2 separate regions of the Homo sapiens genome follow, and region 2 is linked to region 1. The links are contacts of gene promoters, found by promoter capture Hi-C in blood cells and fetal thymus (Javierre and others, 2016). All regions are on one chromosome and are shown on one strand. The core of a region is centred on a gene start or on the middle of the fragment in contact, and the rest is flanking DNA. Distances in the headings are between cores, read along the strand shown. Region 1 holds the start of ZNF70 (zinc finger protein 70). Region 2 has its middle 12 kb from the start of MIF-AS1.

The links. Contacts are between HindIII fragments. The CHiCAGO score rates a contact against its expected background, and 5 or more counts as called.
Region 2: a fragment that was not itself captured here is called in contact with the fragment with the promoter of ZNF70 in region 1 in 1 of 17 cell types (naive B cells); the score reaches 5.5 in naive B cells.

The regions. Positions count from the first base shown.
Region 1 is chr22:23,747,266-23,753,147 of GRCh38, forward strand. ZNF70 (zinc finger protein 70) reads right to left here and starts at 3,847. Exons shown (of 2, transcript NM_021916.4): 1 at 3,446-3,847. It overlaps VPREB3 (V-set pre-B cell surrogate light chain 3), which reads right to left. Exons shown (of 2, transcript NM_013378.3): 2 at 5,478-5,882. The coding sequence ends at 5,611. RefSeq lists a silencer at 3,563-4,012 and enhancers at 3,605-4,280, 4,163-4,222, 5,063-5,122, 5,633-5,882. The HindIII fragment of the contact is 6,484 bases long and covers 3,156-5,882 here.
Region 2 is chr22:23,907,429-23,913,550 of GRCh38, forward strand. No RefSeq gene overlaps it. Among named protein-coding and RNA genes, the nearest start is that of MIF-AS1, 12 kb to the left of the region's middle. RefSeq lists enhancers at 1-261, 1,108-1,952. The HindIII fragment of the contact is 1,468 bases long and covers 1,621-3,088 here.

The DNA of each region.
Region 1 (5,882 bases), core at 2,597-5,096:
GCGAGCATTACAGCCTGAACTCTGCCTCCTGTCAGATGAGCAGTGGCATTAGATTCTCATAGGAACTGGAACCCTATCGTAAACTGTGCATACGAGGGATTTGGTTGTGCACTCTTTATGAGAATCTAACACCTGATGATCTGAGGTGGAACAGTTTCATCTCAAAACCATCCCCCATGTCCCCCACCCATTCATGGAAAAATTGTCTTCTGCAAAACTGGTCCCTGATGCCAAAAAGGTTGGGGATCACTGGTCTAGGAGACATAAATAAATAAAACAGACAAGTCCGGGCGCGGTGGCTCACACCTGTAATCCCAGCACTTTGGGAAGCCGAGGTGGGCAGATCACGAGGTCACGAGATCGAGACCATCCTGGCTAACACGGTGAAACCCCATCTCTACTAGAAATACAAAAAAATTAGCCAGGCGTGGTGGCAGGTGCCTGTAGTCCCAGCTACTCGGGAGGCTGAGGCAGGAGAATGGCGTGAACTCAGGAGGCAGAGCTTGCGAGATCATGCCACTGCACACCAGCCTGGGCAACAGAGTGAGACTCCGTCTCAAAAAATAAATAAATAAATAAAAATAAAAATAAAATAAAACAGACAAAAGCAGAGCTGCTCCAGTTGAAGGAGGGCGCGTTAGCAGGGACAAGGAAGGAAGCTAGAACAGCCCACTCAGCACTCCCCCTCCCAGATGTGGCCCCTGAGGAAGCCCCAAAGAGCCCTATTCAGAAACTTCTGTGCTAGATAAAGGCAAAGTCTTCAGGTGACACAATAATGATAGCAACAGCTCATATTCACTGAGCACCTACTCTGTGCTAGGCACTAATAGGTCCTTCAAGGCACCTCATTTAATCTTCACAACTCTATACAAAGGCACAATTATCCTTATACTGCATCTAGAGAGTAACTGCCTCAGAAAAAAAAAAAAAACTAAATTAATCAGAACAGTCATAACAGAACTCATTTCTACTTGGAAAAAAAAATTTTTTTTGAGACAGGGTCTCACTCTGTCACCCAGGCTGGAGTGCAGGAGTAGAATCACAGCTCACTGCAGCCTTGACCTCCCCGGCTCAACTGATCCTCCAACCTCAGCCTCTCAAGTAGCTGGGACTACAGGGGCATATCAACACATCCAGCTAATTTTTTAATTTTTCTGTAGAGATGAGATAATATTATGTTGCCCAGGCTGGTCTTGAACTCCTGGGCTCAAGCAGTCCTCCCACCTCTGCCTCCCAAAGTGCTGGATTACAGGCATGAGCCACCATGCCCAGCAGAAATGATTTTTTTTTTTTTTTGAGGTGGAGTCTCACTCTTGTTGCCCAGCCAGGAGTGCAATGGCCCAATCTCGGCTCACTGCAACCTCTGCCTCCTGGGTTCAAGCAATTCTCCTGCCTCACCCTCCTGAATAGCTGGGATTACAGGCACCCGCCACCAGGCCCGGATAATTTTTGTATTTTTAGTAGAGATGGGGTTTCACTATGTTGGCCAGGCTGGTCTCGAACTCCTGACCTCAGGTGATCCGCCCACCTTGGCATCCCAAAGTGCTGGGATTACAGGTGTGAGCCACCACGCCCAGCCCAGAAATGATTTTTTTAAATGATTTTTCAGCCAATAGACCGACTGGATATAAAAAAAAAAGAGCACTGAACTAAAGTATTTTCTTTTTCCAGAATGGAGTGCAGTAGTGTGATTACAGCTCACTGGAACCTCTGGCTCCTGGGTTCAAGTGATTCTCCTATCTCAGCCTCTTAAGTAGCTAGGACACCATCCTGGCTAACACGGTGAAACCCTGTCTCTATTAAAAATACAAAAAAGGCCGGACGCGGTGGCTCACGCCTCTAATCCCAGCACTTTGGGAGGCCGAGGTGGGTGGATCATGAGGTCAGGAGTTCAAGACCAGCCTGGCCAAGATGGTGAAACCCCGTCTCTACTAAAATTACAAAAATTACAGCGCGTCTGTAATCCCAGCTACTCCGGGAGGCTGAGGCAGGAGAATCGCTTGAACCTGGGGGGCGGAGGTTGCAGTGAGCCGAGATCGCGCCACTGCACTCTAGCCTGGGTAACAGAGCGAGACTCCATCTCAAAAAAAAAAAAAAAAAAAAAAAAAAAAAAAAAGCCGGCCGTGGTGGCAGGTGCCTGTAGTCCCAGCTACTTGGGAGGCTGAGGCAGGAGAATGGCGTGAACCCAGGAGGCGGAGCTTGCAGTGAGCCGAGATCGCGCCACTGCACTCCAGGCTGGGCGACAGGACGAGACTCCGTCTCAAAAAAAAAAAAAAAAAAAAAAAAAAAGTAGCTGGGAATACAGGCTCTACAGGCACGTGCCACACCTGGCTAATTTTTGTATTTTTTGTAGAGATGGGTTTTCGCCATGTTGTGCAGACTGGTCTCGAATTTCTGAGCTCATGCGATCCACCCATTTTGGCCTCCGAAAGTGCTGGTATTATAGGCGTGAGCCCCCTCGCCCAGCCCTAAAGTATTTTCAAAAATTCTTTGATCACTTCAACTCCTCTCACCCTCCCCCTCCTCTTCAGCAACCCATAATCTCCAACTCTTCCAGCTCTCTCACTCAATTTGTGCTTTTCGACCTCATGAAATCCAAGCCATTTTTACTGTAGTTCTCCTTTTCTAGCTCCACCCCTTCTCCATCCAGCTTAGACTCTCCATACTATGCGCATCACTTCAACTCTCACGCTCTAGCACCATGCTCCTCACCTCCTCGTCCGGCTGCAACTAGCCGCTAAGTCCCAGTCTTCTCGGCCAGTTCCTCCTAAGTTGTTAAATGTTGCCAAGAAAAATCATACAACTATGTATGGCACCACGACAAATTTCGAGTTTCCGATTTCAGCTGGGACCTCAGCTCTGGCATTCTATGACCTCCTTATTGCCAATCCCTCTCTTCTCGGTCTTCACCTTCCCACCCCATCTGGCACTGCTCTCCAATACCTCCTTCTCAAAACCCTTCATTTCAGAGGTTGCAAATTGGCAGCCTGAAGATCCTGCTATGTTATGTTTGGCTCTCGAAGAGTTTGGCTTTTCCTGTTCATTTTCCTTAGTTACCAATATTTAAAACTCAGTAGGTTTCTGGCTTTCTCTTGAAAAACGAAGATGTGACAATATCCCTTCACCCGCCCACATTGCCTACCTAGGTGCATGAAAGCTTTGAGCTACCCCCCAACCCCATCCCCACCCTCGCTTTCTTCCCAATTTTCATGGCTTCCAAGTTCTCTTTCTTGATATCTTTAGATTGCAACTCTTCCTCCGCCCACCCATTAAGTCCTGGTGTTCTCAAACTTCCCTCCGTAGAGGTTTTCCATTCCCACTATATAGCCCCTACACCCTGAAGTCTCCACTCAGAAAAAAGTTGGCAACCCTTTATCTGTCTCCCACAACATGATAAGTGTTTTTGGACCGAAAATGCAAAGATCTGGAACTCCATGCTTCCCACCTCTGTCGGGGCCTTCTCCGGGTCCTCCTGCATCTGTCATCCCATCCTCCAGAGAGTCCCTAGGGCCTGGGCACCCTGCAAACTCTTAGTGCAGTCAAGGTTTCCTGGCTGGGGGCCCAAGAGTTGCCACGGACCCGCACACGCTGCCCAGGCGGCGACGTGGCGCCCCTACAGGCTTCCCCGCGATTGGGGACACGCACACCCAGGGCCACCGGAGGGACAGGTGGTCAGGCGGACTCAGGTCACACCGGCGGACGCGGGGCCACTCACCTGGGCCGGGGCGGGGCAGCTCACCTGGGCCGGGGCGGGGCCGCAGGCGGGCGGGGCGGGGCCGCACCTGAGCTGCTCCAACCCGCGGCCGACGCGGCCGACGCTGCCTGGCTCCACAGCAGCTGCTGACGCGGAGCCCGCGGCCGCCCGAGCACCCAGAGCCCCGCCCCCGGCCCGCGGGCACTTCCGGGACCACTCTAGGCCGCGCGGAGGTCCCGGCGTCTCGGTGGTCCCACCGCGCCGGTTGTCGCCGCGCGAAGCCGCCCGGGCCCCGGGACACAAGGACCCGAATCAGGAGAGTCTCTCCAGTCGGCATGGTGGCTCTGGCCGTCCCCGAAGCGCGTGCTGGACGTGGGGGAAACAGAGATGGGCAGGCGTTGGCAGGAGAGCAGAGGAGGAAACAGGTCCGGACGGGCGGGCCGACCTCGAGCCGCCGGCACTCGGGGCATCTGCGCTGGTGCTGGGTGCAAGCCAGAAGCCACTGAGGCAGCTGGGGTCTTCAGGGAAAGGAGAGTGGAGCCCCAGAGCTGTCGACCCTGTCACTGTCCACAGGCACCGGGGTCCTGTTAGGATCCCCCTCCCCCAACCTGCTTCAAGGGTAGCCCTGTTCCTGTCTGCCCTCCCCGCCCCCACAGAAATAGAGATGAGAAGGGGCAGGCGAAGAACTAGGAGTGTCTGCGAGACCATCCCAGGACCCTGAGCCCCCCAACTCTCTGCATCCCAGGGCTGACTTCGACATGAAGCGCCTCCTCTCAGGCGCACCGGGAGGGAAGAGGAATGTGTTCTTGAAATGGCCGCCCCCTTGGCCGGGCGCGGTGGCTCACGCCTTTAATCCCAGCATTTTGGGAGGCGGAGGCGGGTGGATCACGAGGTCAGGAGTTCGAGACTCAGCCAGACCAACATGGTGAAACCCTGTTTCTACTAAAAATTATCCGGGAGTGGTGACAAGCGCCTGTAATCCCAGCTACTGAGACAGGAGAATCGTTTGACCCTGAGAGGCGGAGGTTGCAGTGAGCCAAGATAGTGCCATTGCACTCCAGCCTGGGCGACAGAGCGAGACTCCATCTCAAAAAACAAAAAAAAAAAAAAGAAAAGGAATCTCCGCCCCCTCCTTGCTGCTGATGGCAAGACTGGCCCCTCCACCCAGTGTTCTGCCCATGACACCCCCCCCTCAGGTGCAGCTGCCCAGCTTGTGGGAGAGCTTCCCTCCGCAGACCTTGGCCCAATCACAGGACATCAGGAGAACACACTGTCCCTGGGAAAAAGGATTCTGCCCCAGCCGCCCACCTGCCTTCAGCACCCTCAGCCTTGGCGCTCGAGTGCCTCCAATGCTACCCACACACACCTGCCTTCCTGCCCCATTAATGCTCTGTCGGGCCTTGGGCACAGACTCCAAGGGGTAGGCAGTGGCTGCCCCTCCCCAAGCCAACAGCCTGAGCTCCATGGGGACCAGCCACCCTAGAGCCATAACCCTTGGACCATAACCAGCCATGCAGAGTTGGGGGCGGCAAGGGCTGGTTCCTTTTTCTCCCTCCGGCTCCTCAGGTCACAGGAAGGTCAGGCTACCAGTTTGAGCCCCCAGGGGGCCATGGTGGGGGAGTCTGGGCCATGCCCCAATAGTCTCAGGTGCTTCCTCTTTGACAACAGTCCCCAGAATCCCCATTCCCCCGCACACTGCTCCCCACCCCAGGAGTGGGTCTTCGACTCCCAGACCCACCACAGTCATTTTTCTCAGCCAGGATCTTATGACCCTCACAATAGCTGTTGTTGACATGTTGAATATTATTAACCCATTTTACAGAGGGGAAGCAAGGCTCAGAGAAAGTTTAAAAGGGACCCAAGGTCAGGGGCAGAAATGGGAGGCAGAGGGGAGGCACCCATCTCACACCCCACCCCTAGGGACTAAAGCCGTAGCCAACAGAGCAGTAGTAATCCGCGTCGTCTTCAGGCTGCACGGGACTAATGGTGAGGACACAGGCATTGTGGGCCTCATCCTTGGCTGCCGAGAATCGATCGGGGATGTCAGCAGGCCGGTGGTGATCCTCCTCCGAGCGGTAGTAGAGGAGATATCGAGGGGCACTGCCTGCCCGCTGCTGGTACCAGGACACACCGTAGTCCCTGATGGTGACGTGCTGGGGGCTGAGCGTGCAGGAGAGTTGAGCCACTT
Region 2 (6,122 bases), core at 1,105-3,604, 160 kb after region 1:
ATCCCCATGTGATAGTCTGAAATATGGCCTCATGGGAAGGGAAAGACCTGACCGTACCCCAGCCCGACACCCGTAAAGGGTCCGTGCTGAGGAGGATTAGTATAAGAGGAAGGCATGCCTCTTCGCAGTTGAGACAAGAGGAAGGCATCTGTCTCCTGCCCGTCCCTGGGCAATGGAATGTCTCAGTATAAAACCCGATTGTATATTCCATTTACTGAGATGGGGAAAACCGCCTTAGGGCTGGAGGTGGGACATGCGGGCAACAATACTGCTCTGTAAGGCATTGAGATGTTTATGTATATGCACATCAAAGCACAGCACTTAATTCTTTACCTTGTCTATGATGCAGAGACCTTTGTTCACGTGTTTATCTGCTGACCTTCTCTCCACTATTATCCTATGACCCTGCCACATCCCCCTCTCTGAGAAACACCCAAAAATGATCAATAAATACTAAGGGAACTCAGAGGCTGGCGGGATCCTCCATATGCTGAACGCTGGTCCCCTGGGTCCCCTTATTTCTTTCTCTATACTTTGTCTCTGTGTCTTTTTCTTTTCCAAGTCTCTCGTTCCACCTAACGAGAAACACCCACAGGTGTGGAGGGGCAACCCACCCCTTCAGGCTGCATCAGCAACTCAGTTATCCAGGCGCAGGTTCTAGGGTACCCACGTGTTGAGCTCAGTCCCTCTGACTCCCAAGCCAGGACTCTGTCTGACGGCACCTGCTTCGGTCAGGGCGTGGGAGATTGGCCTGGGCAGGCTCTTCCTCCCAAGGCAGGGTCAGTGTTGAGTAAAGGCCAGGACCATTTCCCCAGACAGGCAAGGCAGGGCCCAGGCCTGGGTCCAGGGCCTCTAAGTCCACGTCCCCACTTTGGCCACATGGGTCATGAGGGGTTTCTGTGTGAGTGGCCTTTTACACTTTCCCAAGCAATTTCCCCAGACATTATCTCATGTTATCCTCATGAGGACCACCCTGTGAGGTAGGAATTAGCAACCCTGTTTTAAAGGGGAAACTGAGGTAAGGTATGACGCTTTCCTGGCAGGGCCAGCCTCTGGCACAGCAACAGGGGGACAGTGAGGATGGCCAGATCTGGGTGCCCCTCCCCACTGCCTTCTCTTCCAAGCTACAGTCTTTTATTCAAATTCTTCTCCTCTTTTTCTCTCTCATTTCCCCTCCCCCGCTGCCATGTTTTTTATGCTTGTGGATGTCTCATGCAAGAGTGTTCAATAGCTCCTCCCAGCAGTCTTAGAAGGGAGTGTAAAGATGACCAGACACGGAACCCCGAGAGTTCACTGGGGGTTCCCAAAGGCATGTATAGGATCCAACGTGTTTTTTCTGCCTCCCACTCTGCCCCCTTTCAAGAAGTGCACCTGTGGTTCAAAGTTCAGCTTTTACTGCCGGTGCATGTGTAGGAGAGGACAGGGCAGGCTAGAGCCCTGCTAAGGGCCAGAGAATCTCATCCCACCCAGAGGAGGGTTCTTTTAGGCGGTGGGTACAAATCTCAGAACATCCCCACTGTATTGTTGAGAGGGTGAGGTGGGACATGTTGGGGGAAGAGCGAGCTGCAACCGGTGCAGCTGCGATTATTCAGAGCAGAGGTGGCTTCAGAGACAACATTAAGCTTAACCCTCAGGGGCCCTCTTTGCCTTGGGAGGAGCCCTATCAATGCTTTTGTCATGTGCTTTTGGAAAATATGTAGAAGACATTTTTACAAGTTGGTTGAGGCCTAGTGTCTCTTTTCAGTTCATATTCTCCCTCTGTCACGCGTCTGTCCTGTTGGAATGGCTGTGGCTATTTTGGATATGGCTAAGGGAGAAGGTAAAATTGGGGATCATTTTGTATGAGTTTAGTGGGACACATTTCTGGGCTTTGAAGTCACTTCTGTATCTACTAAAAATTGCTATAGTTATCTTTGTGCATAAATTACTTCTGGCTGATGTAAGCAAATCCCCGTATCGGGACTCAGCCGGGGAGGGTTTTTGGCTTTGCTCAGGAAGGAATTCAAGAGTGAGCTAACAGACAAAACTGAAAGCAAAGCAAGTTTATTAAAGCAACATTGTACAGCAAAATGGCTGCTCCACAGACAGAGCAGGGCTACCCCACAGGTAGAATAGCACTCCAGGATTGCTGGCTAGCTATATTTATACCCCCTGCTAATTATATGCTAAATAAGAGGCAGGTTATTCATAAACTAGGAACAGGAAGTTCCTGGAACCATATAAGATAATTCCTGGGTTATTGCCGTGGGATCATTTGTAAACTGTCATGGCCCTGGTGGGAGTATCTTATGCAAATGCATTTTAATTCCTATTCCGAGCTGGTTTTGGCCATTCTTTGTTATTGTTATGTTCTGTTTTGATCAGCAGGGTTTTGACAGGTGCTTGGAAAAATCCTGCTGATCTCCTCCCTCACAGGGACATGCCTACTGCCAAAGGAGAGACGGAATTATCTTTCTATTCTCCCCATAGAAAATATTACAAAATCACTGTCACACGAAAATGTGATCAAAGAGTCTGCAGCCAAGAAATATGGGGGGGACAGAGTGTTTTAAAGGCGAAGGTGTGTCTGTCACTTAGTAAAAATGTCAGGATTCTTTTTTTTCTGGAGTTTGTGGTGTTTGTCGGCTTTTCAAAATTTGTCATTCCTTTTCTTAATCTAAATAATCATTTTATAGAGAAAAAAAATTACTCATCAGTGTTGATGATGCCCTGGTTTTCTGTTCAGCTTTGTTTTCCAATCAACTCTTCACCCAAGACTCAATCCTCCACCCTCCAACTCTTCATCCAAGACTCAATTCACCCAACACTCAATCCTCCACCCTCCAACTCTTCACCCAAGACTCAATCCTCCACCCTCCAACTCTTCACCCAAGACTCAATCCTCCACCCTCCTCCAACTCTTCACCCAAGAGTCAATCCTCCCCTCCCAGTGTTTACTGATCAGCCTCCTATCAGCTATTAATGGGACCTCAAACATTCTCTATGGCTCTGTTCTCACGCAATGCAATCTGCTAATCTCTAGGAACTGCAGACCCCACTTAATGCATTTAAAGTATGTATAATGTGACCCAATAGCTTCTTTATCCCAAGCTTATTGATTCCTATAAGAATCATCATCCTCAAGTCACACATGAGGAAACTGAGGCCAAGGCCAATGCTAAGGCTGATGGAAGTGACAGATGTTGAAGATGACACAGCATGACACGAGGGATGAGGTCAAGGCTATTGATGAGGTCAAGACAGCTGTTGTGCTTTGTCCCAAGGCCATTCCAGTTGGTGACAAAATAACTATAACAGATTCCTGGCCAGGGCTTCTCCCTCACAGCAGCTGCCTCCTACTGGAGTCAGAAATGCCTTGGTTTATATAGTTTCATTCATAGGCTGTCTTAACTCTATTTAAGCAGAAAAGGGCTGAAATGTCTTGCCCAAGATCCCTCAGCTAGTAAGTGACAGATGCAGGTTTCAAATCCAGGTCGCTGGACTCAGGGCAGGGCCAGGGGGAATGAGGGCAAACAGACTGGCAGCTGATCAAACTGACACTGCCTTCCTGGTAAAGGGGACAGTGAGGAGAAATTGACAATAGCAGGAGGCTCTGACCACAACAGGCTGCCTCCAGTCTCTTCTCTCACCAGTGGCCCCCAAAGCCACGTGAGTTGGGCTTTCTGACCACACTTTATTGCATTTGCAGACCCTACATGCTTTAAACACACTTTTAGTATCTCACTGGGTCTCTAACAACCCCAGGAGTGGGCAGGGCAATAATTATTTCACAGTTGACAAAGCAGCTTCACGAAAACATTGGGAGCTCAATAACTTCCCTATTGGGATGCACCCCCAGGAGCTGTTCAGTTAATGTCATAGCAGGTTCAGGGAATGGGCTTAAACCCCAAGATATCCTACACCATTTTGTACACAGCAGGTTCTGTAGGGAGAAAACCAACAAGGTCTTCCCGGAGGGAATGGGCTTAAACCACAAGATATCCTATACCATTTTGTAAGCCTCCCTGTGATCATTTCCCATCCAAGTACTAACCAGGCCAGACCCTGCTTAGCTTCTGAGATCAGACGAGATTGGGCGTGTTCAGGGTGGTATGTGAAAGATTCTCCCCGGGGCCTGAAAGTTTGGGGGGATGAATAACTCCTCCCTTCTCAGGCCCAGTCCCAAGGCACAAGACCACTTGTGCTAGCAGCGTGTGTCAGCAAGATAGCAGAAGCAGGAAGAGAGCTGGCCAGGAGACACGTACCCCTGAAGATCAAGAGAGAGGCCATCTGGGTACCATGTAGCAGTTACATCAGACTGGGACACTTCCTGTTTACAGGAGACTATAAAACCCCTGCCCCGTCCTCACCTGGGGCTGACGCCATTTTAGGCCTCAGCCCATCTGCACCCAGGTGCTCATTAAAACAGCGTGTTGCTCCACACTGCCTTGTGTTCTTTGCTGGCAAGCTCTCGGGGTTCGAACCAACACAAGAGCCTTACAGTATGGCCGCAGATGTCTCCCAACATTTCACAGAACCTGGTCAGAATAAAACATTCCATGGGGGTTCAGGTCATAAAAAAATACTGCCTAACCACCTAACCACAGGAACATCTCTATTACATCCTGCTGGATGAAGGGCCCAAGGAACATCTTCAACATCCTGCAGGGGAGCAAGCTATACTGCCCCTTCTCCCCCGGTCCAGACCCATAACTGACAGAGCAGGAGCACTGCCATCTTGAACAAATACCACCATTCTAAGTTCCCCCTTCATTAAAAGCCGCCTAAATCCAGCCCCAAAACATCAGCCTAATGGCTAATGTCAGCATAACCAGAAATATTCCAACCCTAAGATAAACCCCTCTGACCAGAAACATGCCAACCCCGAGACAGCCTCCCTTCCGACCAGAGACATTCCAACCCCGCAATAAACTTTCCCTCACACAGAAACATTCGGAACCTACGATAAGACCCCTTCCAAAACCCTTAAATATCCTTAGTCTGTAACAGAAGTTAGTCTGAGCTAACTCGGCCAGAAGCCCCTCTCAAGTTTATTTTCTAAAATAAACCTGTCCTTGTTGACTGCCCAGCCACCCTTCGTGTTGCTTTCCTCTTCCTTATAGTAAATGTCCCAGTCTGTAAGTGGGACTCGTGCTCTGAGACTAAGCTGGTCCCCCCTCCACAGGTTTGTGCTGGCAATAAACCTGTGTTGCTGTTAAGCTGCCAACTCTTTAACCCTCACCTTCCCTTCAAAACCTAACAAAGATGAATGAGGCATGAACATGAAGACAGAGGGTCAAACCCAAAGAGCAGATTCCGTGAGAAGTCTCCCTATTGACAAGGGTTACTAAGGATGGGGTCTTCTCTGGACCCCCTAGTCTTAGACTTAGTCCACCACATCCAGAAGCCCTTGAAATAAGATTGCAGTGCTTCTGGCATAGCCAAAGACATAGACTTCTCTAAAAATCAGTGCCTAGCTCTCCCCAGGCTGGGCCCTAATTTTTAGTCCAAGCTGTATTATTTTGTAAATCTTCCTGCCATTTCATAGACCCTGGTCACAGTGAAACATTCTGCAGGGGTTTGGGCTGTAAGTAACATCCTCCCCAACTGTCTGACTTCTTTATCACATCTTGTTGGGACAAAGGTTTAAGAAATATTTTTATTAACATCCTCTTGGGCAGTAAGTCCTACCATTCCAGACCCCTCATCCAGGCCTATAATGATTCCAGCCTGTAAGTGCTAGTGGGGCTTTGGCATTAAGTTGGTCCCCACCTCTGTAGGTTGTGTTAATAAACCTGTGTTGTAGAGTGGTCAACTCTCTTGTCTTTAACCCTCGTCTTTTTTCAAAAACCTAACACTCATGTGTCCTCTCCCTCACCTTCTCCTGGCATCCCTTGCCACTGTCCCTCTGTCCCTCTTTCCCCTCCTTAACCCAAAGGGAAATCTCTCCCAAAGGTAAAAGTCTCCCAGGGGTTAAGAGGGAGCTTGAGGCACCAGAAAGAGCTATAGTCACAGCCACCTGTGAAAGCCATCTCTGAGGTCCCTTCCTGTCACAACAGCTGGGCTCCTGACTCAGACCAAGACAGCTTTTGTTTCTTTTCCTTTCTAGCCCCCCACTTCCCACCCACCTTTCTGCTTTCTCA